Regions from separate parts of the Homo sapiens genome. Here regions 1 and 3 are each linked to region 2. Evidence: promoter capture Hi-C in human tissues and cell types (Jung and others, 2019). All regions are on one chromosome and are shown on one strand. The core of a region is centred on a gene start or on the middle of the fragment in contact, and the rest is flanking DNA. Distances in the headings are between cores, read along the strand shown. Region 1 has its middle 80 kb from the start of CDH4. Region 2 holds the start of CDH26 (cadherin 26). Region 3 overlaps CDH4 (cadherin 4).

What was found. The method cuts DNA at HindIII sites, captures the fragments that hold promoters and counts their contacts. A contact is called where the count stands out against the background at its distance.
Region 1: a contact is called between a fragment that was not itself captured here and the fragment with the promoter of CDH26 in region 2, in 1 of the 25 tissues and cell types used here (lymphoblastoid cells).
Region 3: a contact is called between a fragment that was not itself captured here and the fragment with the promoter of CDH26 in region 2, in 1 of the 25 tissues and cell types used here (dorsolateral prefrontal cortex).

What each region holds. Positions count from the first base shown.
Region 1 is chr20:61,170,501-61,174,261 of GRCh38, forward strand. No RefSeq gene overlaps it. Among named protein-coding and RNA genes, the nearest start is that of CDH4, 80 kb to the right of the region's middle. The HindIII fragment of the contact is 3,737 bases long and covers 427-3,761 here.
Region 2 is chr20:59,956,570-59,960,690 of GRCh38, forward strand. It overlaps CDH26 (cadherin 26), which reads left to right and starts at 1,854. Exons shown (of 18, transcript NM_177980.4): 1 at 1,854-2,226. The coding sequence starts at 2,158. The HindIII fragment of the contact is 5,804 bases long and covers 1-4,121 here.
Region 3 is chr20:61,681,396-61,685,770 of GRCh38, forward strand. All of the region lies in intron 2 of CDH4 (cadherin 4), which reads left to right. Among named protein-coding and RNA genes, the nearest start is that of CDH4-AS2, 36 kb to the right of the region's middle. The HindIII fragment of the contact is 3,769 bases long and covers 1-3,750 here.

The DNA.
Region 1 (3,761 bases), core at 1,045-3,544, 1.2 Mb after region 2:
CAAAACTGTTGGGGATAAAGTTTTCAGCAGGATGCAGTAAAAGGGAATTGGACCATAACTAAATAGATGTTCCTAAATACTTCTTTCCAGATCACTGCATCATTGACTCAAGCCCGGGGCCCAGGGTCCTGCGCCAGTCCATGCCGGGTCTTAGACATGCTTCACCCAGCATGAGGCTATGGGGCTCATTGGGGATGCGCATTTTCCCAGTTGGCCAAAAGCTTAGGCCAAGGATGAGCTCTTTGAAAACTCTGGCCCTTCCTCAGATGCATTAAAGAGGAGTGGCTTGGCTCACAAGTCACTTGTCTTCAGGGAACACCTGAGGCTAAGTGGAGTCCTTGCTTCGGCATGGAATGCTCTTGGTGCAAGCACAAGACCTCTGTCTACTGAGAGGGCAGGAATGACGGCGACTTTGTGGACAGGTTCCTCTGTCATTAAAACGAAGAAGTGACCCAGCTGCCTCTGCCCATCCAGGCCCTGCTCATAAGACAGGCAAGGGTGACACAGGTGGGCCTGAGACAGGCAAGCTGGCTGGTTTCCTGTTTCCACATGGTCTGGAGAAAAAAAAAAAAGAACAAAGGCCCCTTCCTCTAGCTGTAACTCCAGCCAATCAGCGTCAAAGGCCCAAGAAGCTTTTAACCACATGTTTCTGCTTTAGGGGATCGGTAACTTTCCCAAGGCCCTGCATGCACAGCTAGGCTTAACTTCCAACTCATAGTTACCTTTTCCTTATGTTAATGCTAAAACTCATGTCCGGAGGTGGAGATTTCAGATGCTAATGAGACATATGTTGTATGAAGGGCATGGTGGACTACCATGCATGGGCCAGGAAAACCCCACCGCTACATTGTTCCCCTTACTTCCCTTTACTGCAGAGCCTCATAAAAGAAACCCACACCCTGACTTCAGGACCCTCCTCGGGCACCCACACATGTTCACACCCACACATGATCATGCACCATCACAACTGCTCACACTCATGCACACTCAGGCACTGGCACACTGACACACTTCTTATCTTCCAGCTTGACTGCAGACGTGGTCTAATAAAGGGCTCATTCCCCTGGCAGCTGTGATGGGATCCAAGCCATGGGGCTTTTTCTAGAAAGATGGGACAGAGAAGGTCGCTTTCCAATGAGCTGCCACCTTGGAGGTCTCTGCCTGTGCCTGGAGGTCGTGGAGAGGGAGAGTGAGAAGGCAATCTGGGCACTGTTGAGCACCGCATGTTTTCAGCTCCGTTCACCAGTAGATCCTCATTTCTGCTTACACCTGCCAGGGATAAGTTCCATCGGTGCATTCAGTTGAGTCCCTGTGGGTTCAAGTGGACACCCCAGACACCCATGGGGCTCTCTGGAAAGTATCAGAGGGGAACTAAAGACAAAGTGAGTCTCAGCACGGCTCCTCTGAGGACCACCTCTCCTGCTGCCAGGGACCCTAACCATCCCATGTTCCACTCTTTTGCCAGCACCTTTGCTGCTGGGCACTTAGGCAGGCTTCCCAACCAGAGGGTTATGTGCACTGCTATGGCTGCAGACAGTCGTATGTGGTTGCAAATAATCTGTGGCAAATTAAGCACTGCAGCTGGTAAATAATATATTTTAAGCATATTGCAATAGATGCAAAGGCACTATTCTTGCATTCTGGTTTTCTTTCCTGAGTGGAGGGGTTTAGAAGCACCCAGGGATACATCACCTGCGTGAGCGTCGCCTGATGTGGGCATCCAGTCCTAGAGGTTCTGAACATGCTGTACCATCACATTGATGTGTTTTGGACACCCCAGATGCTTGCACCTGGCTCCCTCTCCCAATGTCCCTAGGCTCCCAGCTCCCAGCCTCCTCGAGCCTGATGGTACGTGGGGAAGGAATACCTACACAGGCCCTGTATGTCTGACCTGCTTGCTGCCACTGCCCACCTTCCTGCCCTACAGTGCAGGGTCTCTCCCATCCCTGGGCTCTCTCCTTTCCTGGGAGGTTGGGCACTCACTATCCCTCTGCCTAGGCTCTGTCCCAGATCTCTTTTTAATTTTTTTTATTTTTTTTAATTCAAACAACAGATGTGTAATGGCTCACAATCTAGAAGCCAGAAACGTGAATCAAGATGTTGGCAGGACCACAATCCCCCACAGGCTCTGGGGGAGGCTCCATTCCTTCCTCTTCTTCCTATCCCATTGCTGGAGGCTTCCAGCCATGACACCCATCTCTGCTTCCTCCTCTTCTGTCTGGCTTACCTCTCTGCCTCCCTCTTAGTAAGACCCTTGTCACAGGATTTAGGCCCCACCAGGATAATCCAGGAGGGTCTCTGCATCTGAAGATCCTTAACTTAATCACACCTGCAAAGACTCTTCTTCTAAATATGGTCATGTTCACAAGGTCCAGGGATTTGGATGTGGACACACCATTCAGGAAAGTGACTGCAGTGAGGGCCTCTTGTTCTCTCCCCAACTTCACAGTTCGTTCTGGCTTTGTTTTAAATATTCCAAGATAACAATGAATGTTTTTTTCCCCACAAAAGATGTTCACATATATATATGGGGTGGGTGGTGGGAGTGTGTATAGTGGTTAAATACATATAACATAAAATTCACTATTTTGACCATTGTTAAATGTACACATCTGTGGCATTAAGTGCATTCACACTGTGTACAACCATCTTGACCATCCATCAACCATCAACACCATCCATCAACCATCTCCACAATCCATCAACCATCTCCACTATCCATCAACCATCTCCACCATCTACCAACCATCTCTATCATCCATCAGCCATCTCCACCATCCATCAACCATCTCCACCATCCATCAACCATCTCTACCATCCATCAACCATCTCCACCATCCATCAACCATCACCATCCATCAACCATCACCACCATCCATCAACCATTCCCATCATCCATTCAACCATCTCCACCATCTATCTGTCATCTCTATCATCCATCAACCATCTCCACCATCCATCAATCATCTCCACCATCCACCAACCATTTCTACCATCCAAGAACCATCACCATCATCCATCAACCATCACTATCATCTACCAACTGCCTCCACCATTCATCAACTGTCTCCATCATCCATCAATCATCTCCACCATCCATCTACCATCACCATCCATCAACCATCACCACCATTTATCGACCATCGCCACCATCCATCAATCATTTCCACCATTCATTAACCATCTCTACTATCCATCAGCCATCACCACCATCCATCAACTGTCTCCACACCCAACAACCATATCCACAATCCATCTCCAAGATCACCTCAGATCTTTAACTTGCCAAATACTCGTCAGCATTAAGTCTCAGCTGAAACGATGTTCAAGATCCTCCGTCCCTCCTGGACTCTCCTTCCTTTATCACATGTTACTGCCTCAAAACCCAACTCTCTAAGAGCATCTTGTTCATTTGTGTGTTTATATTGTGCCTACTACCTGCACACTCCCTGGGGGCTGGGATTACTTTCTCCTAGCTTATGACGGTCTCTTCAGTGCCTAGAACTGTCTGGCCTGCACTCGGTACCCAAAAAATGCATGACATGTGAATAAACATGTGTATAGGGTTGTGAGTATCAAGTGATTCAACTCTTGTAATGATTTTAGCTAAGCTCTGGACACCCTGCAAGAACTCAAGAAAGTGTCTGTATTGCTATTAAGCACTTAGGAATGTCATGTTTTAGGTTAGCTCTTTGGTTACAAGCAACAAAGGCTCCACTCAGACTCACTTGGGGGCAGGGTTTTCACTCTGGTTGTACAGG
Region 2 (4,121 bases), core at 604-3,103:
CAATTCCCCAAAGTCCATTGTATGATTCTTATGCCTTTGTGTCCTCATAGCTTAGCTCCCACAAATCAGTGAGAATATACAATGTTTGATTTTCCATTCCTGAGTTACTTCATTTAGAATAATAGTCTCCAATCTCATCCAGGTCACTGCAAATGCTGTTAATTCATTCCTTTTTATGGCTGAGTAGTATTCCATCATATATATCTGTATATACACATATATATACATATATATGTGTATATATATGTGTATGTATATATATACATATATGTGTGTATATATGTGTATGTATATATATACATATATGTGTGTATATATGTATGTATATATGTGTATATATGTACATACACATATATACACATATATGTGTATATATACATATATGCGTGTATATATGTACATACACATATATACACACATATATGTGTATATATGTACATACACATATATACACGCATATATGTGTATATATACATATAGATACGCATATACACATTTTCTTTATCCACTAGTTGATTGATGGGCATTTGGGTTGGTTCCACGATTTTGCAATTGTGAATTTTGCTGCTATAAACGTGCATGTGCAAGTATCTTTTTCGAATAATGACTTCTTTTCCTCTGGGAAGATACCCAGTAGTGGGATTGCTGGATCAAATGGTAGTTCTACTTTTGTTCTTTAAGGAATCTCCACACTGTTTTCCATAGCAGCTGTACTATGTTATATTCCCCCCAGCAGTGTAGAAGTGTTCCCTGATTGTCACATCCACACCAACGTCTACTGTTTTTTGATTTTTTGATTATGGTCATTCTTGCAGGAGTAAGGTGGTATCGCACTGCGGTTTTGATTTGCGTTTTGCTGATCATTGGTGATGTTGAGCATTTTTTCATATGCTTGTTGACCATTTGTATATCTTCTTTTGAGAATTGTCTATTCATGTCCTTATCCCACTTTTTGATGGGATTGTTTTTTTCTTACTGATTTGTTGGAGTTCATTGTGGATTCTGGATATTAATCCTTTGTCAGATGTATAGATTGTGAAGATTTTCTCCCACTCTGTGGGTTGTCTGTTTACTCTGCTGACTGTTCCTTTTGCAGTGCAAAAGCTCTTTAGTTTAATTAGGTCCCAGCTATTTATCTTTGATTTTATTGCATTTGCTTTTTGGTTCTTGGTCATGAAATCCTTGCCTAAGCCAATATCTAGAACAAGCAAAGAAAGTTTACCTTTTATTTTATCTGTTTACTACTTTAAACAAGGTAATGTGATAAAAAGGTCATGTTAAGGTAATCAGGGTTAATGTATCACAGATTGTGTTTTAAAACTTGCTTACTGCAACCTTAAGTATTGGTATAATATAATCTCAAATTGTCTCTTTCAGAATTCTCATGCAAAGACTCCCGGGTTGCCACAGAGATCCCTGTCCATAGGGAGGCTCTTTCCCATCTCTCCTCCCTCCCACTTTAATTCCAAACTCAAAAAGGCAGATTAATCTAAGCTTAAAAAAGGTTTTAGTAGAAATAATTTGAAAACCCCAGAGCCCTGGGATATTGTTGGAATAACGATTTTTAGTGCTTTGGAAAGTAAAAGTTGATTTTTCTTTTCTTTCATTCTTCCCCATCCCTTCCCCCTTAATAAAGTTATCATTCTTGTCATTTTCTAGTTTTTTTTGTTTGGTTCAAGAGGATAAGATTATAGAAAATAGTCACTAACATATCCTGCTATAGAAAGAGATGATTGGACCTTCTATTTGGAAACCAGAACAAACAAGGAAACAAAGAAACAAATAATTCTGCTTTCCGATAGGTGCTGGTTTTACTTCCGCTGGCTGAGCTGTTGTTCCTGAGGTCAGACCCCAGCCAGTCTTTTGTGTACGTGCAGGACCATGGTGGCTTTAGTTTCTACCCCACCCTTCCTAGGAACTCTACTTGTGGCAAACGTATGTTCAAGCTTACAAGTCAGCCCACCCCACTCTGATAAATGCAAGAAAAGCTGAAAAGGGAGGAGCAAGATGGGATGAAAGCATCTGGGCCAAAGTGACCTGAAAACCTTTAGAGAAGAAGCTGCTGGCTGAGAAGGAGGTGTGTGGCTCCGGTGAGACCACCAGCTTGGAGGACTGGTCATCAGCTGCACGTTCTGGGTCTGTCTTGGGTATTCCCATATGGCCATGAGATCCGGGAGGCACCCCTCGCTGCTGCTGCTTCTAGTGCTGCTGCTGTGGCTGCTGCAGGTAAGCTGAGCCTGCAGCCTAGTGCTCAGGTGCAGGGAACTGAAAGCAAAGCACAAGCTGGCCCTGCCCCTTCTAGGCTAAGGGAGGGGAGAGGGACTGAGTGTGACCTGCTGGGACCCAGGGCTGGCTGTCTTGAGAATGGCTTAGGTAGCAGGGGCTCTGGATTTATATAAAGGGAAGTTAAGGGTCCCAGTCTGTTTGGGGCAACAGTGGGAGCAGGCTAAGGGACCTGTTTAAAACTAATTTATATAGTTCACACTATTTTTAGTGAGATTACATCAACACACACGTGTTTTCTTTCTTTGTTTCTTTCTCCTTTTGTTGAGACAGGGTCTGGCTTCATCATCCAGGCTGGAGTGCAGTGGCATGATCAAGGCTCACTGCAGCTTTAACCTCCCAGGCTCAGGTGATCCTTCCACCTCAGCCTCAAGAGTAGCTGGGACTACAGTAACTTACCACCACGCTGGCTAATTTCTGTATTTTTTATAGAGATGGATTTTCACCATGTTGCCCAGGCTGGTCTCGAACTCCTAAGCTCAAGTGATTTATTCGCCTTGCCCTTCCGAAGTGTTGGGTTTACAGGCATGAGCCACCTCACCCAGCCAACACACACAATTTTTTTTTTTTTTTGAGACAGGGTCTCGTCATCCAGGCTACAGTGCGTGGTGACATCTCAGTGCACCGCAACCTCCTCCTACTGGGTTCAAGCAACCTCCTGGCTCAGCCTCCCGAGTACTGGGACTACAGGTGCACGCCACCATGCCCGGCTAGTTTTTGTATTTTTATTAGAGACAGGGTTTCACCATGTTGGCCAGGCTGGTCTCAAACTCCTGACCTCAAGTGATCTGCCTGCCTCAGCCTCCCAAAGTGTTAGGATGACAGGCTTGAGACACTGCGCCCTGCCAAGTTTTATAATGATACTTCTGTTCACACTTTACATAAGATTGAGGAAATCTCAGTTGTCTGGATCCAAGGCAATTTGAGCAAACCCATGGGGATGGAATGGCTAAATCCATTGCCCCCAACTGCCACTGTTTAAATGGGAATACAAACTAGTGGAGTCAGGATTCGAAACACATGGGCTTGCTCTGTTTGTACTTAGAGTGGACAGAGGTAATGTTGCATGCGCTTGTTGGTTATGATCTGCTTCGTTGGCTTTCTGTAGGTAGGGAGAGGGAATCATTTCTTCCTTTGAATACCAGCTGAGGGTGGGAAGCAGCCCAGTGGCTGGTAACTGTGAGCTCTGGACTGGGCTGCTTGGCGTCCTGACCTAGGCTCCTTCACAGCCCGCTGGGGACCTAGGCCAGCTTAACTTTGTTCCTTACCTTGGATCAAGTTGAACTTACCTAGGGAGCTTCAAGGGATCTCAGTGCCTGGGTTTTGCCCCCAAAGGTTCAGGTTGAGCTGACCTGGGAGTGCACTGGGTGTCAGTGCACTGGTTTTAACATAACCTTGTTAAGCCTATTTTTCTTCACCTGAAAATGGAGCTAGTAACTGAATTTATCTGAGCCAGTGGTTGTACCAGTGAATGAGGAAATGCGTAAAAGCCCTTGGTACTGCGAAAGTTGTCAGAATCAGAATGGAGTTCCTTATGTTAAAACACACACACACACACACACACACACAGGCACAAAGCCTGATATATAGACACAAAGAAGGTTATGAAAAGGGGGTTCTCACATTTGTAGGCTTGATAACTAAAACTATCACAAAAGCTCTGCAAAAATAACAACTTTGCACAAAGGCCGTTAAAACCTTACACAAAAAATACTTTTTCGAAGAAATCTTCCCAGCAACTTTTTGTGCAAACTCAGACCAGTGTCACCCTTCTTATTGATCTTTGTAGCCAAAGATAATTATTTCAAAACAATGATATAATCCTTCTCATTTTTTCC
Region 3 (4,375 bases), core at 616-3,115, 1.7 Mb after region 2:
GACAAAAATGGATTAGACAATCCTTGGAACTTTATAACTGTGTGCGTATTTCAAGGGATCTGTTGGCTTCTGAGCTCTTGTTCTGAGGGGTGGGAGAATTAGACAATCCTTGGAACTTGATAACTGTGTGCATTTTAAGGAATCTGTTAGCTCCCGAACTCTTGTTCCAAGGGGTAGGAGAAAAAGGGGGCATCATCTAGCAGCTGGGAGGAGTCTCAGGATCCCCCTGCAGGAAGCCCGGAATCCCTTCCACAGGCACAGAGCTGAGGGTGCTGCAGAGCCCCTAAAGAGCTTTCTGGGCATCGGGAAAGTCCGGGCTCAGTGCATGTGGAGCTGCCACCCTAGAAAGCCCTGCGTCGGTGTTGCTGTGTTCTCAGGCCCGTGCAGCTGACATTCCTTTGGCTTCCTGGTGATGGAGGGACAGACAGAGCATCCCCACATTTGTCTTTGAGGGTGTGTGGTGTATACGGGAGCAAGCAGGTTCAGCAGAAAATGACGTGATGCCAAGGCCAGGGCTGTGAACTTGCAGGAGCTGCCTGTGACCCCAGGGCAATCTGGGTTGTCATTGCAGAAGGAAGCCCAGTGGGTTTCAGCTGCTAGTGGAGAACCTATGGCTTCAGTGCTAGCAGTTGCTGTATCCTGCTAAGCGTCTGCCTCCATTCTGGGTCCTGGCTTCTGGGCCAGTCCCTGCCTTTATGACACTACCTTCATGGGGTGTGGGAAGGTGGACCAAGGAATGGGTGGATAGAGGGTAGATGGATGGACAGGTGGATGGGTAGATGATGGATGGAGGGATGGATGGACAAGTGGACAGATGGATAGAGAAATGGATGGATGGATGGTTGGACAAGTGGACGGATGGATAGAGGAACAGATGGATGGATGGACAGGTGGATGAATGGACAAAGGGACAGATGGAAGGAGAGAGGGAGGGAGGGAGGAAGGGAGAGATAGATGAATGGATGGATGGATGGATGGTGGATGGATGATGGATGGATAGATGGATGGACAGAGGGACAGATGGAAGGATGGATGGATGGAGGGGTGGGAGAAGGGGAGGGAGGGAGGGATGGATGGATGGACAGATGGATGGATGGATGGACGGAGAGATGGACACACAGGTGGATGGATGGATGAATACATGGATAGGTGGAGGGATGGATGGACAGAGGAAGGGAGAGATGAAGGGACAGAGGGAGAGATGGGTGGAAAAGTGGAAGGGAGGAGAGGAGAGAACAGGGCATTAAAACTCATTAATGATAAAGCAATTACTGGAGGAAGCATGGATTTTACCTCCCCATGCCAGGAATGATTTTACCTCCCCACGCCAGGAATGTCTGATGTTTCTGGCTTAGTGAAGAGGAAGCTTGGGAAGTCCAAGGTGATTCTAATCTGTGGAATGTTGTATTACTCTCACATTTGTAGGTTTATGGCATTTGTTATGGAAACGTTCTTATTGTGGGGCAATCTACCCGTAAGCAAATCCCCTGAAGGTAGAGATCAGCTGCTCACCCATCTAGTATTTCCTTTTATTTGTGAAAATGCATTCAGTGAGAAAATGTATAAGAACCAATTGTGAATGGTTCTCTTTCAGCTAGTTCTCAAAAAATCCTGTATCTTTTTATAAAGATGGAAATGACAGCCCAGAGTCTATTAAAATAAATATAAAGTCACCATGCCGGGGCCTGGCAATGGGACTGGCTGCTTATGGCTTTGATTCAACATTTTCTCCCTGGAATGTGTTTATGGGAGTTTATAGGCTGTGTGTGAATGTGCAGAGTACGGAGAAGTGCACGCAGCTGTACTCTCCACGTCTGTGCAGTATAGGGCAGACGATAAGTCTTGAGATCCATATGTTTCTTATAAAATTCTGATCTTTGGAAGGATGAGTAATAGGCATTAAGATGGCAGAGAAAGAAACGATCACAAGAGGAAATCATGCACTTCAGAGGCAGTTTCTGCTTCACAAAGAAAGTCTCCAGCAAAATCTACTGTACCCTGCAGTGAACGGCACGGGTTGCTTTCCTTGGAGCTGTCACGGTGTATCTGGTGTCCCCCGAACCGCGAGTCGTGGAGGCCCGTGGGCAGGTGCCCCGGGAGTGCGGCCCAGGCAGATGGTACCAGAACGGGGTGCCGTGCTAGAAGAGCACCCCAAACTGCACGCATCTGCTTCCTCAGATCCCGCAGATGGGCCAGGTGTTCAGAACCTTGTTGGTAGCTTGTCAGTCACCCACAGAGTGAGATGCATACTTTGTTGATAGAATGAGATTTAATGTTCAGGTCAAATATGAAAATGTGTTTGCTTGGAGGGGCATGATCTTTCTGTAGAAGACTCTTCCTGTCATACAGTTACCACTCACTGTCCTCTTCCTTCAAGCCAGGCTCTGTGCTAAGTAAACGATCCTGATTAAAACCCTGTTTTCATTGTCTGTTCTTGTACAAGCCTGTGCCTGCCTGCCGTGGGGTGAGGTGCACCGCCTAGCTGGCACTTCACAGTAGAGAGCAGCCAGAGGGATGGGTGGGAGTTGGGAGGCTGGGCTCTTCCTGGCGGTGGGTGAGACTGTAGCCCCATCACAACCACATCATCCCCTTCCCAGGAGCTCCTCGTGTCTGGGGAGGTGGGCGTGGCAGGGACTACAGCCAGAGCTGGGTCTGTTTGGTGCTTCTTCCCTGTGTGTGGATTCATTTAACAGGGTTGGCTGATACCTACTGTGTAGCAGGGATTGCAGTGGCATCGGACAAAGCCTCTGCCCTCTGGATGCCAAACATTCTAGAAACCCCCAAAGGAATAAATGCAGCCGTTGCTGCTGGTGAAGGAGGCCGTCGGAGTGCTGTGAATGAGGGGGACTGGCCGGCCTGGGAAGTGGCCTGGGAGGTGCTCAGAGGGTGGCAAAGGGGCGACCATGCGACTGAGCCCTGTGGGAAGAGCAGGGGGGCCGCCCAGCTAAGGAAGCAGCAAGCGCGGAGCACGTGGCCTCAACCTCCGTCTTGCTTATGCTGGTTAAGTAGGTCTGATGTTAACCAAGCCAAAATGCAGGGGCAGGGACATCTCAGGACCTTTTATACAAAATAGCCTTGAGCCTGGGCAGAATTCGGAGGCAACCATCTCCTGGCCGCCTGTTCCATATCACACACAAGGTCCAGCCCCCTGTGTTGTTCTGCAGCTGGGAATCCTGGGCTCCGTCCTGGGGGCTGAAAGGCTCCTGGGGGTTCAGTCTCTAACCTGCTCTTTAAAATTTTAGGGCTTTCTTGGGTAGTTTCATTTTATCTCAAAGTCTTACAAACCATCTTAGCGTTTTTGTGCAAACAGCTCCCAATCCTCGCCAGCACCTGGGACCTGCCACACCCACCCAGCACAGCAGCCTCCCTCAATCTGCAGCCCACAGCCGCCTGCCGTGACCACCCCTCGATGTGGGTGAGGTTTCTAAACTGCTCCTGAAGCTTCAAACACACAATTCATCTGTAAATATTTGCTCACTCTATTTCTAACCACGTTATTAAGATATAAAAACTTACCGTGAAATTCCCCTGTTTAAAGTGTACAATTCAATGGTCCTTAGTCAATTCAGAGTTCCATGTATAGTGTAGAGTTGAGTATATGTTACAGAGAGCAACTGTTGCTGTCATCTAATTGTGCAACTTACTCATCACCCAGCAGGGAAACCCCGTACCCATAAGACAGCCACTCCCATTCCCTGCCCCATCCCAACAGCCACAAATACACCTTCTGTCTTTCCGTCTCTAGATGTGTCTAGTCTGGGTATTTGCTACAGGTGGGATTGTCTTTGGGGTGGACTTCTTTCACTTAGCACAGTGTTTTTAAGGGTCTCCCATGCGGTTTGGGTCTGTTCCTGGGAATATATTGTGTTGCCTCACTCTCCATGCGCTGCTACTGGCTTCAAAGCCGCCTCCACTCAATTCATGTCTCAAAGCAACTTGGTCTCTCCACCACCCTTTGTGTGAAGCGGGGTGACTGCCCCTCCCCACAGGCTCATGACAGGGGTTGAGCAAGTGCTCTGTGTACCAAGCCATTCTTGCTGTACCTGCCTCATAATAAAAGCTTGGGCCCCTTCATCTCCCCTGCGGAGAGTGCCTGCTCTCATCAGTCCCGTCTCTCCCCTCTGGATTGCAAAGGCCGCTCCTCGGCCCCACCACCCCGCTGTTTGTGGCGCTTTCTGTCAGTGTCCTGATTCGGTCCTAGTGACCACCACCTTATCCCAGCCTGGTCACTCAGCCTCTGTGTCTCGGGCTTTGACTACGTCACCCACACCCCTTTGCACAGAGTGAGACTGTCCTCAGACCCCTTCCCGCTGTCCGGACTCAGAGCATCCGAGGCACCTGCCCTGGGAGAGCTCCTGGACTCCAGTCCTCACGG